Regions from separate parts of the Homo sapiens genome. Here regions 1 and 3 are each linked to region 2. The links are contacts of gene promoters, found by promoter capture Hi-C in human tissues and cell types (Jung and others, 2019). All regions are on one chromosome and are shown on one strand. Each heading gives the region's core, a stretch centred on a gene start or on the middle of the fragment in contact. The rest is flanking DNA. Distances are from core to core; before and after follow the strand shown. Region 1 overlaps LINC01150 (long intergenic non-protein coding RNA 1150). Region 2 holds the start of SYT8 (synaptotagmin 8). Region 3 holds the start of TNNT3 (troponin T3, fast skeletal type).

Region 1 (2,924 bases), core at 308-2,807, 66 kb before region 2:
TAGCCACATTAGAAGGACCACCTATCCACAGGTTGGTGTGAAAGTAATTGTGTGTTTTTTTTTTTTTTTTGAGATAGAGTCTCACTCTGTCGCCCAGGCTGGAGTGCAGTGGCGCGATCTCTGCTCACTGCAAGCTCCGCCTCCCGGGTTCAGACCATTCTCCTGCCTCAGCCTCCCGAGTAGCTGGGACTACAGGCGCCCGCCACCACGCCCGGCTAACTTTTTGTATTTTTAGTAGAGACGGGATCTCACCATGTTAGCCAGGATGGTCTCGATCTCCTGACCTCATGATCCACCCGCCTCGGCCTCCCAAAGTGCTGGGATTACAGGCGTGAGCCACCGCGCCCGGCCATAATTGTGGTTTTTGCAATTACTTTTCAACCAGCCTAATAACTAAAATGCACCTTTCTGACATTCAACGGCTACCTTGAAACCATTTTGTGAAAGAAATTTACATCTCCACAAGACATTTCCATTTGCAACGTCTGGGAGGGACATCCCTTTGTTTTAAATTTACGTAACAAGTCTTACCTTTGTTTAACGTGTTTTTCCTGGCCATGTTGTCTTCACTGGGCCTTGCTTTTTTCTTGGTTGAGCAAATGATGATGGTACAGTATTTAAGCTGAAAGTCTCAGCTTAAATAGCTTTTCATATATACATTTTCTGCCTTGTTTCACCTAAGAGTTATCTTTTTTGAAGGCAAATTGTTCCCTAGCTAACGATTGCTTAGGATGATAAAACAAGTAATTAGAAGATTGATAGTCTAAAGGGGGAAAAGAAAACTATTTGAAAGCTGGCAAATGAAAATTCTTTCTGAAATCTGTAAGATCTGTTTCTATCTGTGTCTGTTATGACTATATGTCTCTCTGTATGACATGTATCTGATAATATTTAGGAAAAAGCTGAAACCACCTTTGCATTGTCTCTTTGACTGAGACGGTGAGAGACATCTAACTTAATTGACTCCATCTTGCCTTTTTTTTTTTTTAGAGGTGGTGTTTTGCTCTTGTCGCCCAGGCTGGAGTGCAATGGCGTAAACTTGGCTCACCACAACCTCTGCCTCCTGGGTTCAAGCGATTCTCCTGCCTCAGCCTCCCAAGTAACTGGGATTACAGGCATCTGCCACAACGCCCGACTAATTTTGTATTTTTTTTAGTAGAGATGAGGTTTCACCATATTGGCCAGGCTGGTCTGGAACTCCTGACCTTGTGATCTGCTCACCTCGGCCTCCCAAAGTGATGGGGTTACAGGCGTAAGCCACCGTGCCTGGCCCTTCCATCTTGCTTCTAACCTCCTTGCTTATTCCTGTCCTTGCTTATTCCTGGGAGTAGGCTGAACTAACTTTGGGAGAAACTTAGTTTATAGTTTAAAACAAAGACGATAACAGCCTTTCCCAGTGGAGAGAGCTACTAAGGGCCCCTATAGTATCCAAAAAAGAGAGAGACAGAAGTATTTGATAAATTAAATTACATGGGAAGCACTGCCAAATAAGAAATGATGTTTAACCTTATTTGAGATATTGTTTGTGAATACGTCATTAATATATGCTCCAAAATTGTATGGGGTTCCTAAAATTCTGATACATCCGGGTATATGCTGTCACTCTTAATTACAGTTAAGTTATTGTAGGCCACAGAAGTAATCAAAATTCCTTGTCAGTTCTTCTTTAACCATGACCATTTTACGTCATTTCCAGAGTTAATTGCTTTTTTCTGACGTTTCTGAAAACTCACAAACACACACAGTCCTACAATATTGAGTCCTCCAGGAGGTTCGTGAAAGGAGAGAAAGGACCCTGATAAGCCCTCTTGAATAGGCTTCTGATAACTTTAGTGTAATGTCATTTGGACTGGGTAAAAATTCCCGGAACTCTAATGGAAAGATTGACTGGTTTATAAAATTGCTAACCTGGGCAGGACAAAAATTAATTGAATACCAAGAAAACACTTTGCCAGCTTTTCATGCTAAATCAGCCAGTACTGATATTGTTTAGATACCCAATTTGAATTAAATCCATCGTCCAAGTCAAATTACCTATGATAACCCTTCTAATAAACAGTGCTATGCACCTGAACTGGAGAAACAAAATTGGTATTTAAGAAGATATAAGTCCAGCATCAAGCATGGACACATGGACAGCCAAGATGGCCACCTGGTCCTTCCTGTGTCCTTGAAGCTTCCACTATTAAATGCTCTGCACTCCATGATTCATCATGGAAGAGACAAATTAATCCAAATTTTATATATATATGTATATATAATATACATATATATATTTGACATGGTGACCGTTGTAAGTTGTTAAAATGGTTTACGACCAATGTTTGGTCTGCCAAACCCATAATCCTGGGAGGACAATCGAAACTTCCATTACACTTCTGCTACTTGATGGGCCATTGAAACATTGCTGGAGGGATTTCCTTCAATTGTCATTTTCAATGCGTGTTTTCTGGTTATATAGAAGCTTTCCCAGGCAAGAGCACTGATGTTATAGCAGTAGCTAAAAGATTATTAGAAAATTGTTTTTCTCATGGGACGTCCCTTGAGAAATCTCCCATGATAGATGTACTTGTTTCACTGCTCAAGTGGTAAAACTGTTAATAACTTGTTACAGATACAATAATATTAAGCAAGGGAAATGAATGAACTGGGCTGCCTTGGTCAAGGGTGTTGCAGGTGGATGGCCGTCGGGTCCATTTCCAGTGGAAAACATAAGTTGGTGCCTTATGAAATAGTCCCTGGAAGTCCTATATAGAACCTCATGTATCTTCCACTCCTCAACTCCGATATGGCTAAAGGCTCCTAGGCCTTAATGCATTATGCCTAAGTATATTTTCACCAGGTACAGAAAGCTTTTCATGGTCCACTGAGGACCCTATCAAACGCTTCACAATCTAGAACCCAGACATTTGGTTTTCTGAGAG
Region 2 (3,011 bases), core at 1-2,500:
GTGCACTTTTGTCTCATGTCTGTGTCCGGCCTGGGTGGAGACGCTGACCCGGGCATAGGGGTCCACGGTGCCCCCAGGCCTCAGGTCGGCTGCCTGCCTCAGGCCCACCCTGATCTGGGAGCCAGCGGGGTGGGCTCAGCCAAGGGCCCCTGCCCTGTCAGCTCCCCACCACCCAGGGCATGGGGTCTGCCCTTCCCCCGTCACCCTTTCCGGAAACTCGCAGAACCGCTGGTCCTGCGCAGCGGGGCCCTTCACCTCCTGGCTTCCAAAGTCGAACTCCAGGGAGAGCTGCAGGCACCCCCATTGCTGAGCATCCCCCGGGCTGGACTCCAGGCCATCCACATCAGGTTGCACCTGGAGTGAGTTGGGACAAGGGGCAGGTGGTGCTGACATCATGCCTCATCAGAGCCCTGGGCTCCCGGGCAGCCCTTGCATGACATGGGTCAAGACCCCCCGCCTCCAGGCCAGGCCACCCAACAGGCACAAATCGTCGGCTTCGCTCTGTGAGACCGGCCAAACCCACCCAAAACGTGGCATCTGGGGTACCCCCTGCCTTCCTCAAGAACCCGCTGTGGCTCCCTCGGGCCCATGGGGCAGCCCCTGTTGCATGGCCTCCTTCTCACCTCTGTTCACCCACTTTCCCTGCCAGGAAGGTCCTCAACGCCCTGCCTCTGTGGGGGTTAAACCATCCCTGGGGCTGAACTCGCCTCGCTGCCCTGGGCTCTGGAGCCTGGATTTCAAGCCCTCTCTGGACTGAGTGAGCAAGGAGCCGCTCCTCACCAGGTGGGTGGTGGTGGTGCCGCGGGCACTGCCCAGACCCACGGACTCCTTGTCCCTGGGCTTCTTCCTGTGGCGGCGGCAGCAGCAGCAGGCAGCACAGAGGAGGCAGGAGACGAGGAGGACGCCCGCGGCAAGGGCGCCGGCAATGAGAGCCCAGCGGGGCCCTGGGGTAGAGGCCAGGCTGAGTGCATCTGTGGACAGCTGCAGCCCCCACTTGGCTGGGTTATCCCCACACCCCTCTTGGGAATCCCACAACTCACAGGGGGTCCCGGCGACAAGGTCTGGAATAAGCCCAGGTATAGCTGTGGTGCCAGCTGGGGCCGGGGCACTGGGAGAGACTGGTGGGTGCCCCATCTTTCTACCCTGCTGGTTTGGAAGAAGCGGCCCAGGAGGCTGGGTCAGCTGGGAGGGTGGCCCCTCCGGCCCCTGCCCGCTACCCCATCTGACTAGCAGCAGCCAGTGCTGGGTCTGCCAGGGCAAGGAGGCAGCACGGGGTGGCCAGGGGCGAGGGTTCTGTGCAGCAGGAAGCTGAAGGGAGGGAGGCTCTGGACCCTGGCCAAAGCTCCAGCTTAGCTGCCCAGGCCCAGCCTCCCAGCCACCTCCCAGCAGCCCCCAGCCCCAGCCAAGCAGGCAGGGCCTGGGCAGCCTAGTCCCTGCCTTCACCGGACCTCAGAGCACCCTTGCCCCCACTGTAGGATGCGTCCTCCACCAGGAAGCTCTCTCCCTCCCTGCTTCTCTCTCCTGGGCCCTGGACCCTGGGCCCTGCCTGGGGGTCCCATCTCATCCCTGGGGGTCTCATCTCTGCGGTCCCATCACTTCCTTGCCTCTACCCCAGCACGCACCACAGCTGGGGCCCACCATGGTTTGCCAGCCATGCAGGTGGAGCATGTTCACTGCAGCCCCCAGGAACTTGGAAGCCCAGAGGGGTCTGCAGGGTCATGGCGGGAGGAGCAGGGCTGGCTGTCGGCGGAGCTCACTGAGCAGGCCTGGGCTAAAGGTGCATTCCTGGCAGGGGCTCAGGGCCGCAGCGCCTGAGGATGAAGGTGAGGTGGTGGCAGGTAGGGGCAGGGTGCAGCTGGGAGCGGCCAGAACATTCCACACACACTGACTCAGCCGCTGCCTGGACTCGTCCACCTGCCTGCCTGGCCACCCTTCGGCATGTGGGTGGGAAGGAAGGTGGGGCGGGCGCAGCTGCTGGCCCCTGTACCCGCCTGCCTAGGGCCTGGGGAGGGAGCACACCTGGCTGGGCTGGCTCCTGTCACCTACAGGCAGGGGAACCAGGGTGCTACATGGGGCCTACGGTGACCCCAGGCCCAGGGTGACTCCCCAGCTCAGCTCTTCCCTGACTCCACCCGCTCCAGAGAGCAGCAGCCAGCCAGGAGACTCTGTTCCTCCACATTGGCGCCTCCCCTGCTTTGCCCACAAGAGCCTGGGACCCCTCTTGCCATGTCCAAGTCAGCCTGGCCTCAGGGGCCCAGCCCAGGCCATCCCATCGGGAATAAGCAGCTGTTGAGGCCAGATACCCTCACCTCTGCAGCCCCCCAGTCTGGGGCAGAGCAAGGAGACAGACAGAAAGGGACCCTGCCATGACTCCAGACACACACACACACACACACACACACACACACACACACACACACACACGCACGCGCACACAGCATCAATGCCCCACTCCCTGGCAGGCTGGGAGAGGCAGCTGCACTCCCAGAACGGACCCAAACCCCCAGTGTTCAGATGAGGGGGCTGCAGCTCAAGGAGGGGAGGGAGGGTCCAGGTTCCAGCCCCACACGCATGTTGACCCTGTGAGGTCAGCAGGCCAGGTGTTTTACAGACGAGTGGACCGAGGCTGGGAGCTCTAGTTTTGTGGCTCTGGAGGCCAGCATGGCCTGGGAAGCCCAGCCTGTCCCCAGAACACAGGGGCCAGCACAATGGAGGGATTATAGGTACAAAAAGGAGATGCGGAGGTCAGGGCCAGCTTTCCAGGCTGCACCCTGTGCGCAGGGCCCCATGCTCAGAGGGGTCCCTGCTTGGTTTAATGCGTGCTGGGGCCATCTTGAAATTCTTAATTTTGGAACAAGATGCTGCACATTTTCATTCTGCACTGGGCCTCACAAATGACGGAGCTTGTCGAGTTCGGGGGACCCTTTGGGTGAGTCCCCTGCAGATGCAGTGTGGGTGTGCAGTGAAGCTCACGGGCCTCGGCAGCCCCTCAGCTCCTGGGGGACACTCCC
Region 3 (2,986 bases), core at 250-2,749, 85 kb before region 2:
GCTGAGGTGTCCAGAAATAGGCAAGACGTTTCTGCCCAGAAACCCAAGACGTGGGTGAGGCGGGTGTGACAGCCCAGCCCTCCTTGGCCCACAGCTGCCCCCTCACCCTCGGGCACCCAGGCCCTCCCCAGCTCCTCATATTTCCCTCCTGTCCCCCCAGGCCAGAGTCACATGGGTGCCCCAACACCCTCAGGCAGGGTGACCTCCAGGCCCCCCGACGTGCGCTGGAAAGGCCCACTCTCCAAGTGGGGAAACTGAGGCACCTGGTTTTCTGCTGAGCGCCTGGAAGCAACACAAGGCTGTTCTGTTCCCCCCAGTATGGCCTGTGTCATTGCCTCTGTTGCGGGGAGGGGCTGGTGGCAGGGGTGTGCTGGGGGCAGGGGTGTGCTGGGGGCAGGGGATGGCATTTCAACAGCTGAGACGCAAAGCAGGTGTCCAGTTAGTGCCTGCCTTGGAGGGGCTGCGTGAAAATAACCTATGCGGTCAGTTTCTTCGGGCACGTATGCATCACCTTTCCCTCCTTGGGAGGTGACGGGGCCAGGGCAGGGTGGGGAGGCAAAAGCCGCTGCCCCTTGCTTGCTGTGGCCCTGACCATGCCCCCAGACCTGTTCTCCACCCAGCCAACCTTTGCTTTGCCCCATGTCCCTCCGTGGACTTCAGGAGGGGCAGCCAAGGCCTGATCAGACGGCACAAGTCAGGGGGACCGTGTCCAGGGCAGGGAGGGTGGGTGGGGGCTCTTACGAGCGCCAGCTTCTCCAGCCTCCAGCCAGGGGGACGCGATGAAGCCCAGCCCCTCACTCTTGCCCCGTCCTGCCCCAGTCCAGCCCCTGTCCACTTCTGTCCTGCACCTCCAGACGCTGGCCCCCAAGGCTGCGTGGGCTTTAGACGCCCCCACCCCAACACACTCGGGCTGGCCATACAGGAGCCCCTGCCCTCCTGTCCTCGTTTTCATCTCTACAAAATGGCGGTGTTGGAGGCCCAGGTGCGAGAGCTGCATGGCAAGGCCAGGACGGGCCTGGGCAAATGTCTGCATGGCGACCACAAGCTGGCAACCTAAGCCCTGGCAGCACCCCTGCACAGCCTCTTCCCTGCCGCTCACAGCCCGCACCTCTCTGCCTCCTGCCCTCAGGCCACTCCCTAGCACTGAGCTTCCCTGAGCCCCGACTTGCCCCCTCCTGGCCTCCCACACTCTGCCTTCTTCTGCATCCTCCCGGTGCTGAGACCATCACACCACCATGTCCGCATCCCAGACTCTCCGGACGCTGGAGCAGCCACCTGGGGGCTCCGAGCCATGATGCTTCGAGATGCTCGGCACCACACGGACCTGGGACCTCAGCGCCCCAGGACCCCAGAGTGTCCCTGGAACGAGGGGCTGTCCACCCGCACGCAGGAGGCCCCGTCGGCCCCAGTCCTGGGTGGCCGCTCCTGCCTATACCCACCTGCGGGTCGAGTGTGAGAAGGGCTGGAGCTCCCTGTGGACAGCACCGGCTGCAGGCACTGGCGCCCGGCTCACACCCTCGTGTTATAGTGACATTTGATCTTCCTAGGAGCCCATTGGCCAGTGACTGGGTGGCCGGGGTGTGTGCGGAGTCTTGCTGGGGGGGGCTATGCCCGTGCAGGCCCCTTACCAAGTATAGGAATGGCCAGAGGAGGAGGCTGAAGGAGGCCAGGATGCAGAGGACGTGCTTGGAGAAGGAGGCAAGGTCCTCCCTCCGCCTCCAGGAGGTGTCAGCTGCTATTTTTACTCCCAGCAGCGGGTACATTCTGGATGGGCTGAGGAGGGAGGAGGAAGGTGTTGGGTGGCCCCGGGGCACCAAGCCGAGGCTCTCTTTGGGCCAAACTAGTGTGGGGGTCCCCAGAGCCAGGCTGCCGGGTTTCCCACCCCCCCGCCCCTTCTCTCTGAGATGTTCTGTGGGAGTAAACATTTGTCCAGGAAAAGGGTCCGCACAGCCGGGGTCCCCTCCCGCCGCCCGGCCCAATGCCCCAGGCCCTTCGCTGTCTCCCCCGGGGAGGAAGCAGCCTGAGGCCTCGGAGACCCCCCATGGAACTGAGGCCAGGCCCCCACCCTATCTGAGACCCTCTTAGAGGCCAGCTCTGCTTTCCTGGCTAGACACCGTTGGGGCCTACACAATAAGCGGGCGAGGGACATGGCCAGGCTGGCTGCAGTCCGAGTCTGCCATACCTCCCCCCGGGGCTGCTGCCATTGCAGGGGGCTACACATGGAGTTTGCTGGGTAAGGGTCTGGGTCCTCCCTCTAGGCCCTTTCTAACCCTGGGGCCCCACCCTGGGCACTCGCAGTGGCCGTTACCATCTGTGCCAGCATCTCCCACAGGCTCATTGTGGCGTGTGGAGACTGGTTTTCTTTCCTCAGGACTCCAGGTGGCACCGTCCGACTAGCAGACATCCTTCCTGGCCTCTGATGGCCTGTATGCTGGCCAGTGAGGCCACCAGATTGGATAACCCTGCCTCTTGGATCAGGGAAACTGAGGCACCAGGTGGGGGAGAGCAGTCTGGCACCCTGACCCACCCCCTCACTCCCCTCAGACCCCACAGGCTGAGCGTGGGCGGTGGTGTCTGCGGAACTCTTCGGTTCAGGCACAGATTGGTTCCTTCTTGGCCAGCGCCCAGGACAGGGGTGAGTCCCGAGAGGCACAGATGAGGTCCCTGTCCTCCCCAGGCTTAGAGTCAGGGACAACAGGATAACCCGGCAGGGGCTCACAGTGCCCTGGGGCCGGGTCGGGGGCCTTCCGGAAGGCTGTGGTTGGCACCTCATTCCACCCCTCCATGGAAGAGCGAGGCCGCAGAGCCCAGGGACAGGCAAGGTGTGCCTGGGGTCACACGACAAGGCGGGCTGGCCCCAGGCTGCCATTTCAAAGGACAGGGCCGGTCCCCTGCCTGCCTCCCGCTGAGTGCCCGGCACTGGGAAGGCTCTTGGAGCTGGGGTTGCTGGGAACGTCGCCGTCCTCCTGCTCTGGGTCTGTGGCTT

The links. The method cuts DNA at HindIII sites, captures the fragments that hold promoters and counts their contacts. A contact is called where the count stands out against the background at its distance.
Region 1: a fragment that was not itself captured here is called in contact with the fragment with the promoter of SYT8 in region 2 in 11 of the 25 tissues and cell types used here (H1 embryonic stem cells, IMR-90 fibroblasts, aorta and 8 more).
Region 3: the fragment with the promoter of TNNT3 here is called in contact with the fragment with the promoter of SYT8 in region 2 in 2 of the 25 tissues and cell types used here (lymphoblastoid cells and spleen).

What each region holds. Positions count from the first base shown.
Region 1 is chr11:1,899,378-1,902,301 of GRCh38, reverse strand. All of the region lies in intron 1 of LINC01150 (long intergenic non-protein coding RNA 1150), which reads right to left. It also overlaps a transcript of PRR33 not described here. Among named protein-coding and RNA genes, the nearest start is that of LINC01150, 4.1 kb to the right of the region's middle. The HindIII fragment of the contact is 4,546 bases long and covers 1-2,924 here.
Region 2 is chr11:1,833,229-1,836,239 of GRCh38, reverse strand. SYT8 (synaptotagmin 8) reads right to left here and starts at 1,250. Exons shown (of 8, transcript NM_001394072.1): 1 at 1,041-1,250; 2 at 781-944; 3 at 256-354; 4 at 1-114. The coding sequence starts at 1,134. RefSeq lists enhancers at 2,060-2,673, 2,674-3,011. The HindIII fragment of the contact is 28,273 bases long and covers 1-3,011 here.
Region 3 is chr11:1,918,216-1,921,201 of GRCh38, reverse strand. It overlaps TNNT3 (troponin T3, fast skeletal type), which reads right to left and starts at 1,499. Exons shown (of 16, transcript NM_006757.4): 1 at 1,440-1,499. The HindIII fragment of the contact is 33,765 bases long and covers 1-2,986 here.